Linked DNA regions of Homo sapiens: all the other regions are linked to region 2. The links are contacts of gene promoters, found by promoter capture Hi-C in blood cells and fetal thymus (Javierre and others, 2016). All regions are on one chromosome and are shown on one strand. Each heading gives the region's core, a stretch centred on a gene start or on the middle of the fragment in contact. The rest is flanking DNA. Distances are from core to core; before and after follow the strand shown.

What was found. Contacts are between HindIII fragments. The CHiCAGO score rates a contact against its expected background, and 5 or more counts as called.
Region 1: a fragment that was not itself captured here is called in contact with the fragment with the promoter of PDZD9 in region 2 in 1 of 17 cell types (M0 macrophages); the score reaches 5.1 in M0 macrophages.
Region 3: a contact is called between a fragment that was not itself captured here and the fragment with the promoter of PDZD9 in region 2, in 17 of 17 cell types (naive CD8 T cells, total CD4 T cells, megakaryocytes and 14 more). The highest score is 64.6, in naive CD8 T cells.

Annotation. Positions count from the first base shown.
Region 1 is chr16:22,144,783-22,148,845 of GRCh38, forward strand. It overlaps VWA3A (von Willebrand factor A domain containing 3A), which reads left to right. Exons shown (of 34, transcript NM_173615.5): 27 at 1,454-1,562; 28 at 3,380-3,524. Among named protein-coding and RNA genes, the nearest start is that of SDR42E2, 16 kb to the right of the region's middle. The HindIII fragment of the contact is 7,143 bases long and covers 1-4,063 here.
Region 2 is chr16:21,998,251-22,002,724 of GRCh38, forward strand. PDZD9 (PDZ domain containing 9) reads right to left here and starts at 2,866. Exons shown (of 4, transcript NM_001363519.1): 1 at 2,767-2,866. The coding sequence starts at 2,797. It also overlaps the pseudogene LOC100420536. RefSeq lists an enhancer at 3,012-3,061. The HindIII fragment of the contact is 4,622 bases long and covers 1-4,240 here.
Region 3 is chr16:22,186,038-22,190,594 of GRCh38, forward strand. SDR42E2 (short chain dehydrogenase/reductase family 42E, member 2) reads left to right here. Exons shown (of 13, transcript NM_001394319.2): 12 at 684-757; 13 at 4,102-4,557. The coding sequence ends at 4,356. It overlaps LOC124903666 (a long non-coding RNA gene), which reads right to left and starts at 1,975. Exons shown (of 2, transcript XR_007065028.1): 1 at 1,934-1,975. RefSeq lists silencers at 4,100-4,189, 4,280-4,329, 4,470-4,557 and an enhancer at 4,275-4,557. The HindIII fragment of the contact is 461 bases long and covers 2,540-3,000 here.

The DNA.
Region 1 (4,063 bases), core at 1,093-3,592, 150 kb after region 2:
GTGTGCCTGTAGTCCGAGCTACTTGGGAGGCTGAGGCGGGAGGATTAGTTGAGTCATGGAGTTCAAGGCTGCAGTGAGCCGTGATCACGCCACTGCACTCCAGCCTGGGCCATGGGGCAGGAGCCTGACTCTTAAAACATAAAAAGGAAAAGATAGGAAAAATAGCAATTGCTGAGAAGATTGGGCCGTGGCTGAAGTGTTCACCCATAAGAATGCTGTACCCCAATACTGATGATGGTTCTGTTATGGCAGCAAATAGGGGTTGTGATAGGAAGTGAAGGGTTCTCTTTTCTATTTTCTAATTTTGGGGTGATTTTTTATTGCTTTGACACTGGAACAAGTAAATTTAGTACAGAATGAAAATCTGATCATTTCTCTCCTTGCCCTCTTATCCTACATTGTCAAGATTAGGGGAAACTAAAAATAGCCACAAAATTCAAAATTATTCACTAGAGGAATATAGGGTCATTCTAGCATGTTGCCCCTCTCCACCTGAAGTCATCTTTCAGTTCAAAATTTATGAACTTCTTACCCCACCATTTAGAGTTTTCTATTTTAAAATTTAGAGATTATTGGCCAGACGCAGTGGCTCATGCCTGTAGTCCCAGAACTTTGGGAGGCCAAGGCGGGCGGATCACCTGAGGTCAGGAGTTCGAGACCACCCTGGCCAACACAGTGAAACCCCGTCTCTACTGTAAATACAAAAATTAGCCAGGCATGGTGCTGTGCACCTGTAATCCCAGCTACTCAGGAGGCTGAGGCAGGAAAATCGCTTGAACCCGGGAGGCAGAGGCTGAAGTGAGCCGAGATCGCACCACTGCACTACACAGCCTGGGCAACCGACTGAGACTCTGTCTCAAAAAAAAAAAAAAATCAGAAATTATTATGATTTTTATTAATATAGCAACTGCATTTACCAAAAAAAAAATCTTAATTCCCTACTCCTTTGTAGAACCATAAATCCACTAGTTTAATAGAAGAAAAAAAGGCTTTAAACAAAAAAAAAAAATACACTTAACAGATGGTTGTTTTTTGTGGGTTTTTGTTTGTTTGTTGAGACAGGATCTTGCTCTGTCATCCAGGCAGGAGTGCAGTGGTGCAATCACAGCTCACTGCAGCCTCTACCTCCCTGGGCTCAGGCAATCCTCCCACCTCAGCCTCCCCCAAGCAGCTGGGACCACAGACACATGCCACCACACCAGCTAAATTTTCTGTTTTTGGTAGAGATGAGGTCTCCCTATGTTACCCAGGCTGGTCTTGATCTCTTGGGCTCAAGCGATCCTCCTGCCTCGGCCTCCCAAAGCGCTGGGATTACAGGCATGAGCCACCGTGCCCAGCCAACAAATATTTTGAGAATTGTTAACCACAATGGAATAAACAATTTTAGGGGGTGATGGGGATATGAAGAAATGACTGATGGGGTGGGTGCTTGCCTCTGCTTGCCTTAACCCAGGGAGTGGTGAGACACATCCAGTGGACGCCCAGGGAGATGGAGGTGTACATCAGGCACTTGGAGAAGGTGTTAAGGCGCTATGTCCAGAGGCTGCAGTGGCTGCTGTCCGGTGAGCCTGCCCACTGCCCTGAAGGGTGGAGGAGCATGAGGGGATGTAGAAGGCTAGCCCCAGGGACCCCAGTGTCAGTCCTTCCAAAGCCAGGCCTTCAAGAACTGCAGATCAGAGGATTAGGCCAGGAACATCATCCACATACAACATGACACTGGGAGGCCGGGCGTGGTGGCTCATGCCTGTAATCTCTGCACTTTGGGAGGCCAAGGTGGGTGGATCACCAGTCAGTAGTTCGAAACCAGCCTGGCCAACATGATGAAACCCGTCTCTACTAAAAATACAAAAAATTAGCCAGGCATGGTGGCGGGCACCTGTAATCCCAGCTACTCAGGAGGCTGAGGCAGGAAAATCGCAGAGGTTGCAGTGAGCTGAGATCGCGCCACTGCACTCCATCCTGGGCAACAAGAGTGAAACTCTATCCAAAAAAAAAAAAAATGACAGTGGGTTCAGAGGACAGGCAAGGGGCTGGATAACAGGGAGGTGGAACATGGGCCAAAGAGCCCCAGCGGGAGCTCACACGCATCCCAGCCTGCTCTGCAAGGCCACCTGCCACACCTTGCCTTCCTGCAAGTGACAAGGGGCTCACTGTCAAAAGGTTTGCTTTAATATTGACTGCGCCCCAGCAAAACAGCCCCTGGAGATGCAGATGGTAAGGGGAACTGACAGAGCAGAAACCCTCTGTTTTGTTTTGTTTTAGAAACAGGGTCTTTCTCTGTCACCTAGTCTGGAGTCCAGTGGTGCAGTCATGGCTTACTGCAGCCTTGAACTGGGCACAAGCAATCCTCCCACCTCAACCTTGCAAGGACCTGAGACTACAGGCACGTGCCACCATGCCCAGCTTACTTTATTTATTTTTTTTAGATACAGAGTCTTTCTATGTTGCACAGGCTGGCCCCGAACTCCTAGGCTCAAGCTATCCTCCTGCCTCAGCCTCCCAAAGTCCTGGGGTTATAGGTGTGAGCTACTGTGTACCTCTTTACAGAGAGCACCAAGTCCCCTCCAGGAGAGGTGAATGGACAGGGTTGGGCTGTGGATTAAGAGACGGTCTGGAAGCATCAAGCCCAAGAAGACAGGCAGACAGCTAGAACTGGACAGGAGGGGATTCGGGCTATGGGGCCTGGAGGGTTTCTGGGGCATCAGGAGGAGGGAGGAAGGGAGTCCTATATAGAGATCCTACAGGTGGCTTTGTACGTGCCACTCAGGGTCCTGTGTAAATTCATTAGGTCCAGTCCTCTGCAGTAGGACCTGGTATAGACAGTCCATGGACAGGGGCGTCATGATGACTGCTGCTTCAGGTACAGTTGTCAGGTCAGAGGCTGAGCTGGGACAGAGAAGGCGTGAGCCTCTCTCCACCCTCGGTTCACATTACCCCTGGGAACGGTGACATAAAACCAGAGATCCAGCGATTTCTTTTGTAGTATGAATCCCCCAGCTCACATACCAGTACACACCCAAACACCATCTAATATTTTAAAACAATGTCATGGTACTATTTAATCCAATCACTTAACTTTAAGGATAAGGAAATTCAAGCCCAGGAGGTTATAACCGCTTGTGCAACTCATCACAGACAAAGCCAGAGCTGAAATCTCGATCTCCCAAAGCCCAAACCACTGACCAGGTCTGTCCTTGGACAATCGACCCCTCCCACAGCACCACAAAAGCCGTCTCTCAGTGGGGTGACATCCAATCAATGATCAGGCAGGCAACAGGTGTCACAAGACTTTATACTTGATAGATAGAGTGAGGGAAACCACCCAGGAGGAGGGACCCCTCACTCCCTCCCTGCCTCTTCCCCACCTGTCTCGGAGCAGGGAGCCGCCGACTGTTTGGCACCGTTTTGGAGAGCAAAGTATGCATATTGCTGGACACGTCAGGGTCCATGGGCCCCTACCTGCAGCAGGTGAAGACAGAGCTGGTTTTGCTGATTTGGGAACAGCTGCGGAAGTGCTGTGACAGGTAGGAGGCGAGGGCTGATCAGGAAGATCAAAGGGGCAGTTCCTGGGGCTTCCCTGGCCAAGCACGCCCCCTCTTCTCAGTGCCAACAGGCCTGGAGTTTCTGAGATGCTCTTCTGAGTAACGCGTTTGAGTAGGAAAGAGCACTGTATTCTGCTCTGCTGTGAAGGAAATCAGTTTTTAGAGGCCGGGTATGGTGGCTCATACCTGTAATCCCAGCAATTTTGGGGGCCAAGGCAGGAGGATCACTTGAGCTCAGGAATTCAAGACCAGTCTCAGCAACAAAGTGTCATCCCATCTCTTCAAAACATTTAAAAATTAGCTGGGTATGGTGGTGTGCACCTGTAGCCCCAACTACTTGGGAGGCTGAGAAGGGAGGATCACTTGAGCCCAGGAGGTTGAGGCTGCAGTGAGCTATGATTGCACCAGTGCACTCCTGCCTGGGCAACAGAGTAAGACCCTGTCTCAAAAAAAAAAGGAACGCAATTTTTAAAAATTAATTTCAGGCCTAGGGACAATTGCAAGCACAGCAAAGGAACTAC
Region 2 (4,474 bases), core at 1,616-4,115:
TTTTAAAAGTCAGCAGGGTTAAGTAAAAGAAGCCAGACTCAAAAGGCTCCTTACAGAAGAAGGACATGTCTCAGGAGTTTGATCCAGACCTCTATAAGCAAATGCAGAAGTTCGGGAAGGCAAGAAACACAAGTACATCTTGAAAAAAAAACAAAAAAAACTTTGTGCAAGGCACGGTAGCTCACGCCTGTAATCCCAGCACTTTAGGAGGCCAAGGCGGGTAGATCACGAGATCAGGAGTTCGAGACCAGCCTGGCCAACATGGCGAAACCTGTCTCTAAGTTACAAAAAATTAGCTGGGCATGGTGGCGCGGGCCTGTAATCCCAGCTACTTGGGAGGCTGAGGCACGAGAATCGCTTGAACCCAGGAGGCAGAGGTTGCAGTGAGCTGAGATGGCGCCATTGTACTCCAGCCTGGGTGACAGGGCGAGACTCTGTCTCAAAAACAAAAAAAAATTATCTGGGCATGTTGGTGCATGCCTGTAATCCCAGCTACAAGCCTGGGTGACAGAGCAAGACTCCATCTCAAAAAAAAAAAAAAAAAAAAAAAAAGAGAGAGAAAAAAACCTTGACAAAGTGAAGTTGGATGTAGATTTTCTTGGAGCAAGTAAATACATGCAATCTCCTGTCTCAAATGCTAGCAACATACCAGACCACTCTGCTTCATTTTGGAGAGAAGACTTCTCACACTATGGCAGCCATCCATGAGAGCTTCACAGGTTATCAGCCATATGAAGTCACTACTTTAAAGCACTTACAAAACCCTCTGAAAAAACTAGTTGAGAAAGAAGAAAAGAAGCTCACCCAGCAGGAAAGCACAGATGTAACAGTGCAGGAGCTGAGTCAATTAATTTCATTAGAGGATGAAAACCACGACAAGGAAAACACTGAAGATGGAAAAGGTATTTTATGTGTTTTAGGCAAAGGCTCTTCACACAGTGCATGCTCAGGATGAACTATTAGACATGAAACCTGAGGAAAGTGCTCGCTAGGGCCCAGTGGCAGGGACCCTGGAACCCGAAGGTACTGACAAAGATGATCCTACTGCTGTTGAAAGTGAGATCTTCAATGCTTCCTCCCTGGAAAAGGGTGAGCTCAGAAAAGAGTGAGCTGCTGTGTTTGGGGACAACCAGGTGGAGGAGGCAGCACTATGGTCCTCGGAGAGCCAGACCCCAAGCACCAGACTAAAATATGAAAGACTTACAGGTTTTGCTACAAGGCTAGTCAGACAGCAATGTCAACCTTCCCAAGGACAAGCAGTCCAAATGACAACAGCCCTGCAGTGAAAAAGCCTAAGGCTGTCTGGCACCTGCCTGCCTAGTTCAGCCTCTTTGCCAACCTCAAGTCTTATCAAATCCTGATGCTGTGCGGAAAAAAGCCATAAAGAACAAGAATTGCTCAGTGCAGGAGTCTGCATCCTTCAGTAAGCCCACCTGGGGGCTAGCAGAAGTATAAAGTGATTAGAGCCTGGGCAACATAGTGACACCTCATCTCTTCTATTTAGGCTGGGCATGGTGGCTCACACCTGTAATCCCAGCACTTTGGGAGGCCGAGGGTGGGCGGATCACTTGGGGTCAGGAGTTCGAGACCAGCCTGGCCAGCATGGTGAAACACCGTTGCTACTGAAAACACAAAAATCAGCCAGGCGTGGTGGTTCACGCCTGTAATCCAAGCTACTCTGGAGGCTGAGGGGCAAGAATCGCTTGAACCCGCCTGGAAGGCGGGGGTTGCAGTAAGCCAAGATCATGCCGCTGCACTCTAGCCTGGGTCACAGAGCAAGACTCTGTCTCAAAAAAAAAAAAAAAATTAGCTGAATGTGGTGGTGCATGCCTACAGTCCCAGCTATGGGAGGCTGATGCAGGAGGATTGCTTGAGCCCAAGAATTGGAGGCTGCAGTGAGCCAGGAGCATACCACTGCACTCCAGCCTGAGCGACAGAACAAGACTCTGTCTCTAAAAATAAAATACAGTGACCCATATGCTATTTTAAGATTTATGTGCCCTTTTAATAAAAATGAAAGGGCCAAAGTCCCTATTTACATTGGTATAATTTTTTAAAGGCTCCTTACTATGTGATTTCATTTTTATGATGTTCTCCATGGAAAAGGCAAAAAAAAAAAAACGCTGTAAAAAACAGATGGGGGTGTGAGGAGCTGCAGTGGGGTGGGGTTTGGCTGCAACTGGGCATTGCAAAGTAATTTTAGGGAGTGGTGGAACTGTTCCCTATCTTGATGGAGGGGGTGGTTCAACGTGGGTATAGCTTGTCAAAACGGTAGCTGTACTTTTAAAAGGGGGGATCTTACTGCATGGAAATTATACCTTGATAAAAATAACGATGGCCAAGGCGGGCGGATCACTTGAGGTCAGGAGTTTGAGACCAGCCTGGCCAACATGGTGAAATCCCATCTCTACTAAAAATAAAAAATTAGCTGGGCATGGTGGCAGGCACCTGTAATCCCAGCTACTCGGGAGGCTAAGGCAGAGGAATCACTTGAGCCTGGGAGGCAGAGGTTGCAGTGAGCTGAGATCGCGCCACTGCACTCCAGCCTGGGGGACAAAGCAAGACTCCTTCTCAAATGATGATGATGATGATGATGATGATGATGATGATGATGATGATGATGATAATGATGATGATGATAACAACAACGATGGAGAGAGGTTATCTCCCAGGCCAAGAGTGCACCGTTGCCATTTTACAGAGGAGGAACATTGACGAAGGCTTGGTCCCCAGGGCTTCTTCACCCGCTTCCTTCTCCCCAGTTACCTTTTTTGTTTTTGTGGGAGGCCTTCTGCATGGTCCCGGGAGGTCAGGCAGCCCGGGAGGGCCTCCCGGAGCAGAGGCTGGAGTCAGTCCCAATGCCAACAGTTTCGAACCTTGCCCGCGGGCACTGCCCTCGGGATGGCCGCCAGGGGGCGCTGCGCCGCCACTGCCCAGAAATTGGGCGGCAGTGAGGTCGCCGCAAGGCTTCCCGTGGACCCTGCAAAACGTGGCGTGGGCATTGCACACCATTGTACTGTATGGAAACTTCTGCAGAGGTTAGCACCGTGCCTGACCCACGGTGGTTTCTTCATTCCTTCTTTTCTTTTTCTTTTTTTAAGAGACGGGCAGGGGGTGGGGGTCTCACTATGTTGCTCAGGCTCAACACAACTGTTGCACTATGGGCTCAAGCGATCTGCCCGCCTCAGCCTCCCAAAGTGCTGGGATTACAGGCATGAGCCACCGCGCTTGGCTTCTTCATTCATTCTTGGTGAACCTAAGAAATAGGGAGGGGGAGAAGGCACAGAGGAGGGTGTCTCAAAGATGTGAGGTGGTCTGCAGAGGAAGATCACAGCCAGAAGATCACAGGAGATCACAGAATACCTAGAAGATCAGAGAATCCCCCGCTGCACTTCTAATAATGGTATTTTAAAAAAATTGTTACATCAGTAGCTCCAATGCTTTGGAACTGCACTTTTTTTCATGAATGTTTTGAATAAGAAAAGGCCCCAGGGTGGCCTAAAAAAAAATGAGTCACTATTAGGAGAGGCACTATTAATGCTTCCTTCTTTTTTCCAAGATAATTCTTCCTCCCACACACATTCACTCATACAACAAGTATTTACAGGGAGCTGTTCTGTCATTTACTGATACTGGGGACACAACAGTAAGCAAGACAAACACAGAAACACAGGCTCTATCCTCTTGAAACCTGTACTTAAAAAACAGATGAAGTGGACAATTTTAGGAAAATATAAATTATTAAAAATAAATTCTAGGCCAGGTGTGGTGTCTAACACCTGTAATCCTAGGTACTCAGGAGACTGAGGCAGGAGGACTGCTTGAGCCCAGGAGTTTGAGATCAGCCTGGGCAACATAGTGAGACCCTTTCTCTATAAAAAAAATTTAAAAATTAGCTGGGCATGGTGGTGCACATCTGTAGTCCTAGCTACTCAGGAGGCTGAGATGGGAGGATCACTTGAGCCCAGGATTCAAGGCTGCAGTGAGCTATGATTGAGTCACCACCTTCCAGCCTGGGTGATGGAGCAAGATCCTGTCTCAAAAAATAAAAATGAATAAATGAGTTAGTAAATTCTAGAAGAAAGAGAAAACCTAATGAGGTAGGCCCTGGTGTTATCCCCGGTCTGATGAAACTGAGAGGCTAAGCACCTTGCCCCATCCCTTCAACAAACAGTCATTAACCACCTATTAGGTGTCAGGCACTGTGCAAAGATTTCCATGGTAGATCTGGTTATGTCCAAGCTTATTCTGTTGTTTCTGTGGCTCTACACAGACAATAAGCCAGGGCAGATTCCTCTTTAGGTTCCTTTTTTTTTTTTTTTTTTTTGAGATGGGGTCTCATTCTGTCACCCAGGCTGGAGTGCAGTGACAAAATCTCAGCTCACTGCAACCTCCGCCTTCCAGGCCCAAGCGATCCTTCCACCTCAGCCACCAGAGTAGCTGGGACCACAAGCCTGTGTCACCACGCCCAGCT
Region 3 (4,557 bases), core at 1,520-4,019, 190 kb after region 2:
GTTCTCACAAGTATTATTTTTAAATTGGTCCCACATGCAGCCCAGTTTGAGAACTGTTACTCCAACCTCTTTCTCTCCTACTCCAGAGAGCATTGGAGTAGAAGTGAGAGAGAGATTATTATATGGATAACTTTGAATCTGTTCAGATTTATTTAAAAACTTCAGTCGTTCAATTTTTTTTTTTTTTCTGACGGAGTCTTATTATGTTGCCCAGCCTGGAGTGCAGTGGTGCAATCTCAGCTCACTGCAATCTCTGCGTCCTGGGTACAAGCGATTCTCCTGCCTCAGCCTCCCCAGTAGCTGGGATTACAGGCATGTGCCACCACGCCCGGCTAATTTTTGTATTTGTAGTAGAGACAGGGTTTCACCATGTTGACCAGCCTGGTCTCGAACTCCTGATCTCAGGCAATCCGCCCGCCTCAGCCTCCCAAAGTGCTGGGATTACAGGCTTGAGCCACTGCACCCAGCCTGGTCATTTAATATTAAAAACAAGTTACTTGTGACATATTTCACAGCTAAACAAGGCACCCCAGCAAGGGCTGCTGATTTAAAGGAATCCAGTGACTTCTGCAAAGTGACCTCTAGCAAAGCAAATGGTGTCCCCCATTGATTTGTCCCCAAGGGCCTCCCTGGAGTTTGCATAATGTGAGGCCCCTGGTCACTGGCCCCCTCCTTCCCTGCAGCAGCAGTTATGGAGCGCCTCCATCTGGCCCTGAGACCCATCTGCAGCCTCCCACCGCTGCTCACTCGTAGTGAGGTAAGTGGGCTGCTGTTATGGGACCTAGGCCCTGCTCCCCATCCCTCCCTTCCTACCTCTCCCCACCATCCCCACTGCTGCCACTCCTTACCCCTTTGACACCATGATGACACATGCTTGTCTGAAGTCTCAGAACTTTCCATGTGGGCCCAAAGCTGGTGCTAGCTCTGTTATGATCACCCCAACCTCTGGGCTTTTGCTGAGGCTGTGCTTTCTGGGTCTGAAATGTGACAGCTCCAAGCCTATCCATCATCACTGTTTCTTCATTCATAAGCATCTTGTCTTTCCAGCCAGACTGGAGGTTCCCAAAGGCAAGTTTCAGGCCATTCACTTCTTTGAATGCTACCAATCCCACCAACTCTCAACACATACATACACACACACAACAGCCTGGTGGTCCTAGGCTCATAGTTCATGCTTACTGAATAATGAGTATATATTAAGTACCTACTACATACAGAATATAATTATTTTTATGAGACAGGGTCTCACTATATTGTCCAGGCTGGTTTCAAACTCCTGAGCTCAAGAGATCCTCTTGGCCAGGTGTGGTGGCTCGCACCTATAATCCCAGTGCTTTGGGAGGCTGAGACAGGAGGATCACTTGAGGCCAGGAGTTTGAGACCAGCCTGGGCAACATAGCAAGACCTCATCTCTACAAAAAATTTTAAAATTAGCCAGGCAAGGTGGTGCATGCCTTTAGTCCCAGCTCAGGTGGGGGATTACTTGAGCCCAGGAGTTCAAGGCTGCAGATTGCACCACTGTACTCCAGCCTAGGCAACAGATGGAGATCCTGCCCCTAAAAACCAAAAAAAAAAAAAAAGATTCTCCCCCCTCAGCCTTCTAAATAGCTGAGATTACAGGCATGCACCACCATGCCTGGCTCAGAATACTATTCTCATAATAATGATGATGCAGGTTTATATTTGCTTAGTTAAAAGAGAGGATGTTTTCATCACAGATTGTAAATAGCAAAGTAATCGGTGGTATTTGAGGTTATTTGCAAAAATCCTTCCAGTCCAGTCGGGCACGGTGGCTCACACTTGTTCCCAGCACTTTGGGAGGCTGAGGCGGGTGGATAACCTGAGGTCAGGAGTTTGAGACCAGCCTGGCCAACGCAGTGAAATCCTGTCTCTACTAAAAATACAAAAATTAGCTGGGTGTGGTGGCACATACCTGTAGTCCCAGCTACTCGGGATGCTGAGGCAGAAGAGTCGCTTGAACCTGGAAGGTGGAGGTTGCAGTGTGCTGAGACCACACCATTGTACTCCAGCCTGGGTGACAGCACAAGACTCCATCTAAAAAAAAAAAAAAAATTACTTCCAGTCCACTCTCGTTTTATTGTCTCTGATGCCCTGCTAAGTTAAAAAGGTCAAAAAAAAATCGTGATCTCCATTTTATGATGAAAAATTGAGCACTAGGAAAATTATTTGTCCAAGGCCACACCATACTGGAATTGGCTTCAGACTCCATGTTCAGTGCTCTTTAACAAGGGGAGTCAGAGGGGGAGAGTGGAGAATGGGCCACAGAAAGAAGTAGTCACCTATGGCTTCTCCTTTGAGCCATCCGGATCAGTGGAGGAGAGAATAAGATGATACTGACAATCTCTTGAGTTGTGACAGTATGCCAGGCACTGTGCTTTATCTCATTTAACTGAGTTGTAGACAACATTGTCCTCTCCATTTAGAGAGGAGGAAATGAGACACACAGTGAAATAACCTGCCCGTGATCACTCACTTAAATGGTAGAGCTGGGATTTGAACCCAGACCTCAGTGATTTCAAGCTTAACCATTAGCTTGTGAAAATGCATCAGGAATCACATCCACATAAAATAGCTGCCAGGGTGCAGCTGAATTGTGGTCAGGCAGGGACTTGGCTCCTCTCCCTCTTGTTTAACTTGGGGATTTCCTTGTTCAGCTCAGGGGCAATGTCCTTAACTGTGGAAGTTCCTTGGCTGTGGCTCGGGTACCCTCTGCTGGTCAATCTGTGACACATCAACCAGCCCTCCAGTTTGACTTTATAGCCTTTTATGCATTTAACATAAATGTTACCAGGCACTGTGCTGAGCAACGGAGGCAAGAAGACATAGTCCTTGCCCTTAGGGAGCTCCTAGTTCAAAGGGGAAGACAGCCCACTAACCAGGCAACTCAACACTGTAATTAGAGCCATTCTTGGGAAAATCGCGAGAAACTCCAGTGCACACAGAAGGGGCGCCTCAGCCAACTCTGAGGAAGTCAGAGAAAGCTTCCCAGAGGTGACATCTAGAGACATCTAGGTGTATTAGGGACCCTGCTTATCTAGCGTAACTCAACTCCTGTGCTCCCCAAAGCCCTGCACTTACTGACTAGGAAAAAAAGGGACAAATACTGGCCTCTCTCCTCACCCCCCATTAAGCATCCAAGACCACAGGTTTGACCCCAGGGGCTGTTTCAATGCCATGGGAGAATCCAGCAGCTGGTGGATTCTTCCCCAGGGTCCGGCTGAGGAAAAAGAGAGGAAGAAATGAGTCAGGTGGGAGAACATCTCCAGGTGCCAGCACAGCAGAGAAGAAATTAGGCTAGAACCTGGCTCCCCTGTGCGACCCCAGGCAAGTCACTCAACCTCTCTGACCTTTTTCCAAGTATGCACAGAACAGATAGTGCTAGTACCACCTGAGAGGATTAAATGAGGTAGGGCATAGAAAGGATTTAGTCCAGGCCAAATGCAGGGTGTGTGTTCCTTAACTGCTGATAGCTATCATTACTACCCTTCAAACCAGTGGGCCCCAAGCCATCTGGCAGCAGGGGAAACACAGCTTAGACCCTGGAGAGCAATCAGTTCTGCATAATCGAATTCCTCTCTTAGGGAAGCTTAGTTAATAAGCGAGGGCATGAAGGCTGCGACTGGGGCCCTCCTGGTCACAGTTGGTCTGGGGTTGGGGGCAGGAAGCCAAGGTCGTTTCCTGCAGATGTTTCTGGCAGGCGTTCACCTTCTCCTAGCGGATGCCTAAGAATGTATCAAGGGCCTCCTGAGTCCCAGCACCGTGCTAGGCCGGGAAGATGAGTGTAGGGGTGAGACCTTTGCTTCTTAGGGACCAAGGAGTTAAATAGGGTGCGAATTCAGCGGGGCTGGAGGGGGCGACGCAAAGGCGGCACCCTCCAATAAAAATGAACATGTAAGGAAGAAAGGAAGACCTCTCTAATGAGGGCATCGCAGGAGCAAGACGCTGCACTCGGGTCCTTTTAAATCACTATGTAATGGAGGGGAAATCCCTGCCCTCTCTTTTCCCTTTCCGTAAACAACGAAGTAGAGGATGTCCTCCTCCCACGAGGCCCGCCCTCGGATGCCCCGCCTGTCCCCGCAGGTGCGCAGCGTGGCCGTGACGCACACCTTCCAGATAGCCAAGGCCCGCGCCCAGCTCGGCTACGCGCCGGATAAGTTTAGGTTCGCCGACGCCGTGGAGCTATACGTGCAGTCCACGACCCGGCGGCCCCGCGGCTCCACGGCGCGGACCCTCCTGCGCCTGCTGCTCAGGCTGCTGCTGTTCCTCGGCTTGCTCGCCCTGGCCCTGCACTTCCTAGGCCTGCAGCCTCTGCACGCCGCCGTGGAGCGCCTGTGACCGTCCGCCGTCCGCCGCCCGCTAGGGTCGGCCCCGCTGCACCCTCGCCCACGCCCGGCTCCCTGGGCTTGTACCAGCCCCTGCCCCGCCTTCTGGGTTTGAGCGCGCCTCCGCTCCGCCCCTTGAATCCTGGTCACGCCCCCGAGCCGCTCTCCAGACCTAGCCCGGACCGCCGACTTCTGGCCACGCCCCTATCTACTC